Linked DNA regions of Homo sapiens: regions 1, 2 and 3 are each linked to region 4. The links are contacts of gene promoters, found by promoter capture Hi-C in human tissues and cell types (Jung and others, 2019). All regions are on one chromosome and are shown on one strand. The core of a region is centred on a gene start or on the middle of the fragment in contact, and the rest is flanking DNA. Distances in the headings are between cores, read along the strand shown. Region 1 overlaps PPP4R2 (protein phosphatase 4 regulatory subunit 2). Region 2 overlaps LOC107986098 (a long non-coding RNA gene). Region 3 has its middle 28 kb from the start of EBLN2. Region 4 holds the start of GXYLT2 (glucoside xylosyltransferase 2).

Region 1 (3,138 bases), core at 536-3,035, 160 kb after region 4:
CAGAAAGGAAAGTTTCAGTTTCTCTACATCCTTGGCCAGCCAATACTTGTTCACTTGTTTTTTAGATAATAGCCAACCCTAATGGGTGTAAAGTGGTATTGTGATTTGGATTTACATTTCCCCAAGATTAATGGTGTTAAGCATCTTGTGTGTTTGCTATTTGTATATCTTCTTTGGAGAAGTGCGTATTTAAGTACTTTGCCCATTTTTAAATTGGGTCATCTTTTTTGTTAAGTTGTAGGTGTTCTTTATATAATCTGGATATTAACCCCTTATCAGATAAAAGATTTGCAAATATTTTCTCCCATTTCACGATTTGACTTTCTGCTCTGTTGATAGTGTCCTTTGATGCACAAAATTTTAAATTTTGATGTAATTCAATTTATCAATTTTGTTGCTTGTGCTTTTGGTATCACACAGTATCTTTAAGAGACAGGGTCTTGCTCTGTCGCTCAGGCTGGATTCCAGTGGTGTGATCTTGGCTTACTGCAGCCTCTACCTCCTGGGCTCAAGCAATCCTGTTGCCTCGGCCTCTTGAGTAGCTGGGACTACAGGTGCATACCACCATGCCTAATTTAAATTAATTAGTAATTAATTATTTTGTAGAGACGGAGTATTGCTGTTTGCCCAGGCTGGCTTCCAACTCCTGGGCCCAAGTGATCTTCCTGTCTCGGCTTCCCAAAGTGCTGGGATTACAGGCGTGAGCCACCACACCTGGCCTCGTATAATATTTTTATGTCGACACTGGTTGCCTTCAGAATATTTTGGGACTATATCAGGAAGCTTTCAAGCTCACAGTGAAGAATAAAAATTGTCCAGACTTTTAGTTTTTTGCTTAGAAGTTCAAATTTTTATCATTGGTAACAAATACTGTCAGTTATTTATCTTGAAATGACAGGTTCACTTTATTTATTTTTGAGAAAATGTCTACCACATTCTCCTAATTTTTTTTTTTTTTTTGGAAATGGAGTCTTGCTCATCGCCCGGGCTGGCGTGCAGTGATGCAATCCTCAGCTCACTACAACCTCCACCTCCTCAGTTCAAGTGATTCTCCTTGCCTCAGCCTCCTGTGTAGCTGGGATTACAGGCATGCACCACCCCGCCTGGCTAATTTTTGTATTTTTAGTAAAGACAGGGTTTCACCATGTTGGCCAGGCTGATCTCGAACTCCTGACCTCAGGTGATCCGCCTGCTGGGTTTACAGGTGTGAGCCATCACACCCAGTCTGCTAATCTAAATAAGCTTTATTTGTGTGGCAGTCCTTTCAGGTTAAAATGCTGTTCTATGAAAAATAGCTAGTTCAGCTGGCAGCGGTCTAAATAAAGGTATTGTTCTTTGAGAATCTCATACCTCTTTGATATGCAGCATAATTTTTTTAATACCTGTTTCTCATTTTGTTACACAGAATATGTAAAAGATGTATTCAAGGGTTGGGATTTAATGAAATTAGTAATTTTTATATCTTTTACACTTTAAGTGGAACAGATTTTTAAAATTACGAGTTTGTGAAAATTCTGGCTTCTGCTACAGCTAGTAATACAGTTTGGTGCTGCTGTCCTGACTCTTGCTACATGGATTATCAGTTTTATCCACCTTGCTTTTATACCATCAGTGCACACATTAACAGTGAACTAGTCAGCCCTTATTCTTTTGACAATAGCTTTGACCTCTTGGACCACAATTTGAAAACTGCTACCCTAGTTTATAGGGTTGCTGCATGGGATGGAAGGTGATTACAGATGGGCTCCCGTTAATTTGTGTAAATTTGTTTAAGTAGTCAACCTGTGTAAAGAGATTGATCTGCTGTCACTAATGGTAGTACTGTCTGCCTGAGGAAATGGTTAGCATTCCTGACTCCCGTGTCTCCTGGAATTTACACTATTCAGGCAGGTATCCTCACAAAATTTCCTTTTATATTACTGGTGAAATGTGAGGAAAGAGGGATAAAAAGGTGTTTATGTTAATTTGATAAATGAATAGATGTGAAAAGTACCTAAGCAAATTATGTATTTTTATTGTGCAAGTACTGGTTGGATAGAACCTGTGATTATGTGCCTTAATCATAGGTACATGCCTTTTGTCTCTTAAGTGACAAAAGAGCCTGAAGATATTAACTGAAAGGGGAAAAAAAAGGAGAAAGTAAAGTTTATTTTGTTATTTAGTAGATAATAGACAAATTTTACTAGTCCATGCAAACATTGTAACTTGGATGATTAAGGTATGGATTCATTCTGACTTAATAGGATAGTGTAACTAATGCCCACCTGGTTAGGTTTGTTATGAGTGAAAGAGTCAAAATATTATTTTAAACATACTAAGAATAGGACCTAACACACCATAGACTTTCAGGCAGAGGTAGTTCATTTAAAAGATCTAAATGAGAGATCTGGGTTTTGTTTGGGTTGGGAGTTGGATAGCATCAGGATGGAGCTTGTGATAAATGAGGCATGATGTGTGCTCTTCAATGACGGCATTCTCATTACTAATTATTCACATCTTAATTTTGTTAGTATTAGTGTCATAGTATATTTTATATTTGTGTTTTGTGTTCAAGAATTGTGAAGCTACATGGTATTATATATTTTTTAATTTTTTGCTTATAGGATTCAGTGGTCCCAATTTAAAGGCTATTTTATTTTCAAACTGGAGAAAGTGATGGATGATTTCAGAACTTCAGCTCCTGAGCCAAGAGGTCCTCCCAACCCTAATGTCGAATATATTCCCTTTGATGAAATGAAGGAAAGAATACTGAAAATTGTCACTGGATTTAATGGGTATGCACTTAATACTGTTTTAAAGATTTAATTTTTAGCAGAAGATGAATAGATTTTTCTTTTAGTTTTGATGTGTCTGGTTGATGATTGATTATCCATTAGAATAAATTCCTTGTTTCTAGTGACATGTAGTAGTTGATGATTTTTAGCTTACAACTATTTAAAATATTTGTAGCCTCTTAAAAAACTTGAACCACCTTTTTATAGGTATCAGTGGAAACAGTCATTTATCAGGAAACATTTTAATGGTTTTTCTTTCCTGTTTTATATTTGGTGTTATGTCTTCATACTTTATATAGAACCTTTATATCATTGAGAAATCACATTTCTTTTAAAACGAAATACTAATTTATGGAAGTATTTT
Region 2 (2,930 bases), core at 345-2,844, 230 kb after region 4:
AAAATGTTTCTTGGGGCCAGGTTCACGCCTGTAATCCCAACACTTTGGGAGGCTGAGGAGGGCAGATCACTTGGGTCAGGAGTTCAAGACCATCCTGGCCAACATGGTGAAACCCTGTCTCTACTAAAAATACAAAAAAAAAAAATTAGTTGGGTGTGGTGGTGCATGCCTGTAATCCCAGCTACTCAGGAGGCTGAGGCAGGAGAATCACTGGAACCCAGGAGGCAGAGGTTGCAGTGAGCCAAGATCACGCCACTGCCCTCCAGCCTGGGCGACAGAGCAAGACTCTGTCTAAAAAAAAAAAAAAAAAAAAAAAAGAGAGAGAGAGGAGAGTATTTGATATATAAGATTATTAAATATCTGCATTGCTTAAGCCATTCTTAATTGCAACCCAAAGCATTCTTAATTGATAAAGCTTCTTCAAAGAACTTGAATCCAGAATTCAGAGATGGTACATTATGGCTGTGGTTCATGCAAGGAAGATGTGCAACTCCAATTAGGGAACCCATCCTTAAAGGTATTCATCGTTCATCAAAATATTGGCTAGTGATGATAATCTATATGTTTGAAGTTAAAACAAAATGTTATGTATGTAGCCCCAGATGAGATGAGAATAGCATCAGTCAAACCCACAATGGGAGATATTCTACAGGATACCTGGCCAGCACTCATTAAGACTGTCAGGGTCATAAAAAAATGAAGAAACCCTGAGAAAATCTCACAGTACATGGGAGACTGTGGGGACATGATGACTCAATGCAATGTGGTAGCTTAGATTGGGTCCTGGAACAAACAAAAGGATATGAATGAAAAAATTGGTGAAATGTACCAATGTCAGTTTAGTTTTGACAAATCATGATAAGATGTTAATAACAGGGGAAACTGGCCTGGGGCAGTGGCTCACACTTGCAATCCTGGCATTTTGGGAGGCCGAGGCGGGTGGATCACTTAAGCTCAAGAGTTAGAGACCAACTTGGGCAACATGGCAAAATCTCATCTCTATAAAAAGATCCAAAAAAATTAGCTGGGGATGGTGGTGTGCACCTGTAGTCCCAGTTACTCAGGAGGCTGAGGTGGGAGGATCACTTGAGCCTAGGAGGTTGAGGTTGCAGTGAGCTATGATTGCACCACTGTACTCCAGCCTGGGTGACAGAGTGAGATCCTGTCTCAAATTAAAAAAAAAAAAAAAAAAAAAAAAGGGGAAACCAAGTGAGGGGTATAAGGAGACCCTCTGTGCTATCACTGAAACTTTTCTGTAAATCTAAAATCACTCTACAATAAAATGTTTATTTTCAAAAATATTGTGTATATATTTTTTTGTTTTTGTATCTCATCTGGACAGATTCTTGATTAATTCACCATTTCCCAGCCATTGGAATAAGAAGTGCCTCTGTAGCATTTGCTGGTGCTCACTCAGACATCTGCCTTTATTTTTGTGGACAAAGAAAAATTTACAGGTAACTTTCTCTCCCTTTCTAGTTTACAGCTCACAGCCAGCCTATCATAAAGCTGCTCGTAGTTTCAAAAAATTATTTCATTCATATATTTAAAATTTTCATTTATATTCTTTATTTACATCTTTTAAATGGAAATAATTTAATTTTTACTATTTAATTTATAACAATTACTTTTACTAACTTAACATTTAATTTTAAAATGTTATTTTATTGTATCAGGCTGGGAGAGAAGCTAAACAAATATGGTGGCCAGAGTTGAATTGTGCTATCTTTGCCTGTTGGTGGCCAGTGCCTTGGGGTTAATCCTTTCCTCTTGAGGTCCATGTCCGCTTGGGGAGATTGATCCACAACTTCATTCACATTGACTGGGGTGGGAAAATGACCCAGGCCAGTCACACACACAGCAGTCTGCTTGGGATAAGAGTCAGACTCAGGACTTTGCTGGAGTTCCCGGGAATGATGCCCTCTTTTTTGGCTGGGGATGCTAAGCTGCAAGATGTGCTCCTGGAGCTGGTGACATCTGTGCCATCATCAGAGCAGACGCCTGCCTGGCAAGGAACCCAGAGGAAAGTGGAACCCAGGCTTAGAGATGAGCCTTCCTGACATTGTTTGAGCATCTGGGATCCAGCTACGTTCAGATGGCTGGGCTTTTCCATGTACTGAGCCAATGAATTTCCTTTCTCTCTTTTTAAAGCCACATTGAGTTGGATTTCCATTTCTGTCACTTGCAACCCTAGCAGTTTTGTTGGAACAGTGGCCCTCACTGCTGTTTGATTATGGTGTGTCCTTCTTGGCCCTCCCATCATCCTGCGTGTGAAACCACACACTGCCAAGTATTGCTCAATATTCCTGATTGTGTTGGGTGGGCATCCTTGCTCTGCCCTCTCTAGCTGACAGCAAGTTAGAACCAAGGCAAATTCCTTAATTGCTCAGAGCTGTAGTTTCCTTGATTGTAAAATTGCGGGTTTGGGTGGGGGTGGGGAAGACACCCTCTATCAAGGGGCTGTTGGGAGAATGAAACGAAGTAATGTATGCGTGGCATTAACACAGTTTCATATTAAACATTTGCATTTGAGTCATTTTTATCACTGTTACTATAAATAAAAGGCAGGTTATCACAGGCAGCAATCCTACCTTTCTTCTCTTTGTATCTTCCACAATGCCTGGCTTATAGCTGGAGGTTGGAAAAAATTTTAAAGTGTTAAGGGCTTTTGTGCCAGTTTCTAGGAATAAAAAGATAAGTGAGACACAGTCTGTCCGTTCCAGTTCCTCAAGGCTGGGGGGAGCCATGGCCTGATTGAAGACCAATCAAGAATAAAGATATGGCGGGGTGAGGTGGCTCATACCTGTAATCCCAGTACTTTGGAAGGCTGAGGAGGGAGGATCACTTGAGTCCAGGCGTTCAAGACTAGCCTGGGCAACATAGTGAGACCCCGTGTCTATAAAAACTAAAAAAATTAGCTAGGTGTGGTA
Region 3 (3,400 bases), core at 158-2,657, 200 kb after region 4:
GATCCGCCTGCCTTGGCCTCCCAAAGTGTTGGGATTACAGGCGTGAACCACCGCACCTGGCCAGATCTTATTCCTTCTAATTGTATTTTTGTGCCCAGTAGTCAATCTCTCTTCATCCCCTGATTTTCTTCTCAGACTGGTAACCATCATTCTACTCTCTACCTCCATGAAATCCACTTTTTCTTAGTTCCTGCATATGAGTGAGAACATGTGATATTTCTCTTTCTGTGCCCAGCTTACTTGACATAATGACCTCCAGTTCTATCCATGTTGCTGCAAAGGACAGGATTTCATTCTTTTTTATGGCTGAATAATATTCTACAGCATAAAATTCTGGATACATTTTGCAGATGGACCTGACAAGACTTGTTGACCGATTGAATATGGACTATGAAAGAAACATGAGCCAAGAAACATGAGCCAAGCAAGATTTTTGGCCAGAGTCACTGCCCTATATTGAGGTGGGGACGGGTCCACATGGGGCCACCTTTGGGAGCTGGGTCTTGAAAATATCGGAAATGCCTGCTGGACACATATCTGAGCTGTTGCATAGACAGGGGACATACAGGTAACTGACACAAGCAACCTCCTGTCTTTAGGCTTACCTGTTGGCCTGCTACAGGTGGGAGCTCTTCAGTTTAAGGGCGCTGGTGAAGAGGAGAAACAAAGGGAGGAACGTTCTAAACTTGTAAGCGCAAGATTGGGTCAGGGTTCAAGAGAAGACATGGAAACACGCAGAACAGGTGATCGCCGCTCAGAAGGCTGCTGAGAGAAGAGAGAGAAAGTGGATGTGTCAGTCTGGACTGAGACCCCGAGCAACCCCAGGGAAGGAGAAGGAGGCCGAGGGAAACCATATGAATCACTGGATTCAACTCAGAGAGATGCAGAAATCCCCAGAAATCATGGAGGGAATCGGAATGAGATGAGGTTACGTCTTCTTTCAGGTGGCATGGAGGAGTCAGGCTCGGAAGATAAATTTCCCCTCAAAAAATGCAAAGAAAAGAAAAAATTATTACGCACTTGATTGACAGCCCATATAATATATATATATATTTTTGTCTGAGACAGTGTCTCACTGTGTTGCACAGGCTGGAGTGCAGTGGTGCTATCTTGGCTCACCGCAGCCTCGACCTCCTGAGCTCAAGTGATCCTCCCACCTCAGCCTCCCCGGTAGCTGGGACCACAGGTGTGCACCACCACAGCCGGCGAATTTTTGCATTTGTAGTAGAGACGGGATTTTGCCATGTTGCCCATGCTGGTCTCGAACAGCTGGCCTTAAGTGATCCGCCTCCCTTGGCCTCCCAAAGTGTGATTATAGGCGTGAGCCACCATGCCTGGCCATGTATAATTATTAAAGTTTAAAAATTTGCAGGGCCTGGGAGTGAGTTCTTCTCTTGGCTCACCCTTGCTTGGCCCTGCTGAGGAACTCTTTGGTGTAGACTACACCCCACAGAGCTATTCTCCCAGTGGGGACACAACTGGGACATTTACCCACCAACACGGGTGAAGTGCTGCTTCTGAGGGGGGTTAATTCCCTGTGCTTCTGACCTGCCTTGTGGGTGGGCAGAGCAGACAGTGGCAGCCAAGGAAGCTCCCAGGTAAAGAAATGCAGGACGCCCAGGCGCGGTGGCTCACCCCTGTAATCCCAGCACTTTGGGAGGCCAAGGCAGGCGGATCACTTGAGGTCAGGAGTTCGAGACCAGCCTGGTCAACATGGTGAAACCCTGTCGCTAACTAAAAATACAAAAATTAGTCGGGCATGGTGGTGGGAGCCTGTAGTCCCAGCTACTCAGGAGGCTGAGGCTGGAGAATCTCTTGAACCCAGGAGGCAGAGGTTGTAGTGAGCCAAGATCGCGCCACTGCACTCCAGCCTGGGTGACAGAGCGAGAAAAAAAAAAGAAAGAAGAAAGAAAGAAAGAAAGAGAGAGAGAGAGAGAGAGAAAGAGAAAGAAAGAGGGAAAGCAAGCAAGAAAAAAGAAATGCAGGTTCTGGCCGTGGAGGGTGCATGTGCCCTGAGGTGGTGAGGACAGGGATGGGGTGGGGACACCGAGGGCATCCCATCCACTGATCCACTGGTGCCTTAAGTGCATCTTGGTCGCTGCTCCAGGGCTTCCTTCTCCACGGAAGCTCTAGGAATGGTTAATATTTCTCCTTTGGGTGAAGCCCCAAAGCCACCTTGTCCTACCTGGCCACGCTGCATCTGAGACCGGGATCCCCCTCCCGCAGCCCATCACCTATTTGATGGCAGGTTTCATTCCACTTTGCTCTTGCCCTCTAATCCCAAATTTTCTTTCCTCAGGATCTACGGCCCCAAGTTTTTCAACATTCCTCCCATCCTGGCACCAGACTGATGGCATACCAGTTCGCTGGTTAATATTCCTCTTAACACAGGTGCCCCGAGCTGGACACACCCCTAAGCTATAGTGAGATCACTGCAGAAATGAAGAGGCCATCACCACAGACCAGGAGCTGGCCGATTACAGCCCTGTGAGCTAAGAATGGGTTCACATTTTTTAAACAATTGGGGGGAAAATCAAGTGAAGAATGCTTCAAGACATGTGAAACTTACATGAAATTAAAGTTTCAGCATCTTCAATAAAGTTTTCTTGGCACGTGGCCACACCCATTCCTTTACTTACTGTCCATGGCTGCTTTTGAATTTCAAAGACATTGCTGAGGGTGGTGGGGATTGAGCTCTTACTAGCCTGAAAAGCTTAAATATTTACTCTCTGGTGCCTTGGGAAAATATTGGCCAAACCCAGACATGGAGTGATCCTGGATTTCTTTTGCCTGTTCAATTAAAAAAATTGACCTTAGCCGGGCGCGGTGGCTCACGCCTGTAATCCTAGCACTTTGGGAGGCTGAGGCGGGCGGATCACGAGGTCAGGAGATCGGGACCGTCCTGGCTAACACAGTGAAACCCCGTCTCTACTAAAAATACAAAAAATTAGCTGGGCGTGGTGGCGGGTGCCTGTAGTCTCAGCTACTCGGGAGGCTGAGGCAGGAGAATGGCGTGAACCCGGGAGGCGGAGCTTGCAGTGAACCGAGATTGCGCCACTGCACTCCAGCGTGGGCGACAGAGCGAGACTCCGTCTAAAAAAAAACCACAACTGAGCTTAATGTTTATATTGAAAGGCGAATGCAATCATATGATTCAAAATGTTAAAGACACCAAAAAGATTCCATCCCTTGCCCACCCAGTTCTCTTCTGTGAGGGTGTCCGGGGTTCCCAGCTCATACAGGTCCTTCCAGATACATTGTATGCAAATGTAATCAAATACCTGGACCTACGTCTTATCTCACTCTTGTTTACACAGTGGAAGCATCCAATAGAATTGTTCTGAGCTGTGTCTTTTTTTTTTTTTTTTTTTTTTGAGACAGAGTCTTGCTCTATCTCTCA
Region 4 (3,109 bases), core at 197-2,696:
ACGGGCTGGGCGCGGTGGCTCATGCCTGTAATCCCAGCACTTTGGAAGAACGAGACGGGCGGATCACTTGAGGTCAGGTGTTCAAGACCAGCCTGGCCAACGTGGTGAAACCCCGTCTCTACTAAATATACAAAAATCAGCCGGGTGTGGTGGCGCAGCCTGTAATCCCAGCTACTTGGGAGGCTGAGGCAGGAGAATGGCTTGAACCCGGGAGGCGGAGGCTGCGGTGAGTTAAGATTGCACCATTGCACTCCTGCCTGGGCTACAGAGTGATCCAAAAAAAAAAAAAAAAAAAAAACTGAAAAACTCAGGGACGTTGTTATAACTTAACTAGTGTTCTTTGTTCTGTGGTGTGCTGAAAAGAGAGTTAATGGAGTCCTGGCTGTCAGTTCACCGTGAGTCATAAGAGGATGTGTCCTAATGTTTCAGATTTGTAACTGGGGATCCCCTGGAAGAATCGTCTGGAAATTACGACCTTCATCTGGCGATTGCAGCTGTTAAAGTCTCCAAAGAAGCCATTCTTACATTGTGTTGTGAAATTATTACTCTATCTCAAATCTGTGCCAGAAAGAAAATAAAATGTGTGTTTATGTGTATATTATAAGCTATGTTTTATTGAACTAATCATTACAGAACTTTTATTGGGCACCGACTGTGAGCCAGGCACTGTGCTAGTTTCTTTGAAGGCATTATTTAATTTAATGCTCACAAAACGCCTCTGTAGTGAGCAGTATTGTCATTCCCATTTTGCACGTAAGGAAGTTAAGGCTTAAGAAAGTTGTGCAGCTTCCTCAGGATCACCAAGCCAGTTAAGCACAGTGTCAGATTTCAAATCCAAACTTTGAAATTCATTCTCTAATTTCTTCAGACTACATGGATCGGTTCGGTCCAGTCTAGCTGTCCCAAGTTCTACTTTGGTGTTTTGAGTCTGAAACCCCAACTACTAATCACGTGTTACTTTTACTCGCTTTGCCTTATTTTGCATGTGTCCTTGTTGAATATGTCCTCCTCCAGGAAAAAGGGAGGTGGCAAGACAGAGGCGGCAATAGGGGTTTATTCAACAGATATTTATTGGGCACCACCACCCGCAGATCCCTGCACTGGGCAAACAGGACAGAGATGTTCCTGCCTGAAAGGATGTGTGGATAAGTGCACAAATGTGTGGATAGATGGATAAAATAAATAAGGAGGAAGCACATGGAATACATCAACAAATAAGTGAATCATGGTATGAGAGAATCAGCGGGAACAGTGGATGGCATGGGTGTGTGAGTGAATGGGGAAGTAAACGAACGAACGAACGAATGAATGAATGAAGTGGTTTTGAGTCTGAGCTACCAGAAGCCCGAGAGCCTGGCTGCGGGCGGGCGGAGGGGCGGCTACTCCACACAGTACGGTAGGCGCAGGCTGCTCCTCCTGTAACCCAGCTCTCACCGCCTCCCCCTCCTCTCCTCTCTCTCCTCCTCCTTCGCCGTCGCCGCCGCCGCCGGCCGCCCGCCGGCCGCCACGACCCCAGTCCCCGGCGGGCGGGCGGAGGAGGCGACCGCCGCGCGCTGCTGCACTCATCCTGCCGCCGCCGCGATGCGCAGAGGGGCCGAGCCGCCTGGGGGCCGCCGCCGCCGCCGCGCCGCACCATGAAGCTCCGCAGCAAGGCGGCGGCGCTGCTCTTGCTCGCGCTGGCCGCGCTGCTGCTGGCGCTGCTGTCCCTGCGCGCTGGCCGCGCTGAGCCCCCAGCGCTGCCCGCGCGCCCCGCGTCCGCCCCGCAGCGCCACCCCGCGCCTGTCCCCGCGCGCTGGCCGGGGCCGGGCGCCCTCCCCGGGGCCAGCCCGGGAGTTCGGAGGCGCCGGCCCCCGCGTCCGCGCCCCCGAGCGGGCCGCCGGGGCGCTGCGAGACTGGAGAAGTTGGCGAGGTGAGTCGTGGCAACCCCAGAATCCCATCTGCGGACCCGTGTCTCGCTCCCTACACCCGTGCCAAGTCCAAGGGAGGCTTTGCGCTGGAGAGACAGATTTCCAAGTTTCACCCACGGGCTGCCCACTTCTGTTTCTTAACCCGATAGAAAAGAAGACCCACCTTGGTGGAGTCCCCCTAACAGCTCGGTGTTGATAATCACGTACATTTTTTGAAGTGTCAAGGAAAGTGGTTTCGTACATTACATTTTTTAACTGTCAAGGCAAGGCGTATTTTTGCACTCTTGCAAACATGCACCCTTTGTTTAATTTGTCAAAAGCCATCACGGTGCAAGAATGTTTTATCTAATTCTCATGTTTCACTGGAGAATTTTACCGAAACCTTAGATATGGTTGAGTTGGAAAAGTTAGATGTTTACCAAGGACTGGCAGCCTCTCATTTAACCTCGAGTACCCCCATGCTTAGAACAGAAGGGACACTTGACCTAAGTTTATTAAAAAGAAGTTTTCTCCTTGAAAGGACTGATGCGTGGCACAGAAAAGACAGAGTGGGGGTTTCCAGATCCTCATTCTGTTTCAGGCTCGAGTGTGGTCAAAGGGTCCTCCTACAAGAAAAACAACTTAACCTTCGACCTTCTGTTTGATACTCTCTTTCCCTACACAAAGCCTAACACGCGGAGGCTTTTCATCAGAGAGCTTTATTTTTGGCCTCAGGGTTGCTGGAACGCCCCGCAGGTTAGGGATTTGAGTTCATTTCCTTTGTTGTGGAGGGCTTTTCAACAATCCCCTTGTCTTGTAGCGAGTCTGTTTCATCTGCCCTTTCAAAACTGTTGTTTCTAACTGCCATTGCAACGTCCTTGTTTGCTGGGCTCCTTAATTTCAACCTGAAAGGAGTTGAAAAATTATTTTTGACCATAATGACTAAATCTCTTTGGTGCCTTTACTGTAACTAAAAGACACGAAACCTCAAGAAGTAGCTGTGTCAGCCTTTGTTTCCCTTCTGTCTCAGTACAAATGGGTACTGACAAGTTTTAGGGGGAAAAAACCCCAACAATCTGTCGCTTTAAAGTACTTATAACACTTTACAGCCCTTTCTGGATGTATACAGTCTTTAAGGATATCTTTGTTAGGAAATTAATAGGATTTCCCCTCTTCTATACTGGAGTTTCTTGTAAGAGATTAATTAGGGTTTAACTGCAAGT

Evidence for each region. Contacts are between HindIII fragments. The study calls those that stand out against the background at their distance.
Region 1: a fragment that was not itself captured here is called in contact with the fragment with the promoter of GXYLT2 in region 4 in 1 of the 25 tissues and cell types used here (bladder).
Region 2: a contact is called between a fragment that was not itself captured here and the fragment with the promoter of GXYLT2 in region 4, in 2 of the 25 tissues and cell types used here (mesendoderm cells and stomach).
Region 3: a contact is called between a fragment that was not itself captured here and the fragment with the promoter of GXYLT2 in region 4, in 1 of the 25 tissues and cell types used here (spleen).

What each region holds. Positions count from the first base shown.
Region 1 is chr3:73,044,583-73,047,720 of GRCh38, forward strand. PPP4R2 (protein phosphatase 4 regulatory subunit 2) reads left to right here. Exons shown (of 9, transcript NM_174907.4): 3 at 2,604-2,774. Among named protein-coding and RNA genes, the nearest start is that of EBLN2, 16 kb to the right of the region's middle. The HindIII fragment of the contact is 3,331 bases long and covers 121-3,138 here.
Region 2 is chr3:73,112,880-73,115,809 of GRCh38, forward strand. LOC107986098 (a long non-coding RNA gene) reads left to right here. Exons shown (of 3, transcript XR_001740754.1): 2 at 1,343-1,457. Among named protein-coding and RNA genes, the nearest start is that of EBLN2, 53 kb to the left of the region's middle. The HindIII fragment of the contact is 3,247 bases long and covers 1-2,930 here.
Region 3 is chr3:73,087,870-73,091,269 of GRCh38, forward strand. No RefSeq gene overlaps it. Among named protein-coding and RNA genes, the nearest start is that of EBLN2, 28 kb to the left of the region's middle. The HindIII fragment of the contact is 5,374 bases long and covers 1-3,400 here.
Region 4 is chr3:72,886,600-72,889,708 of GRCh38, forward strand. GXYLT2 (glucoside xylosyltransferase 2) reads left to right here and starts at 1,447. Exons shown (of 7, transcript NM_001080393.2): 1 at 1,447-1,909. The coding sequence starts at 1,635. RefSeq lists silencers at 1,487-1,716, 1,817-1,946. The HindIII fragment of the contact is 12,200 bases long and covers 1-3,109 here.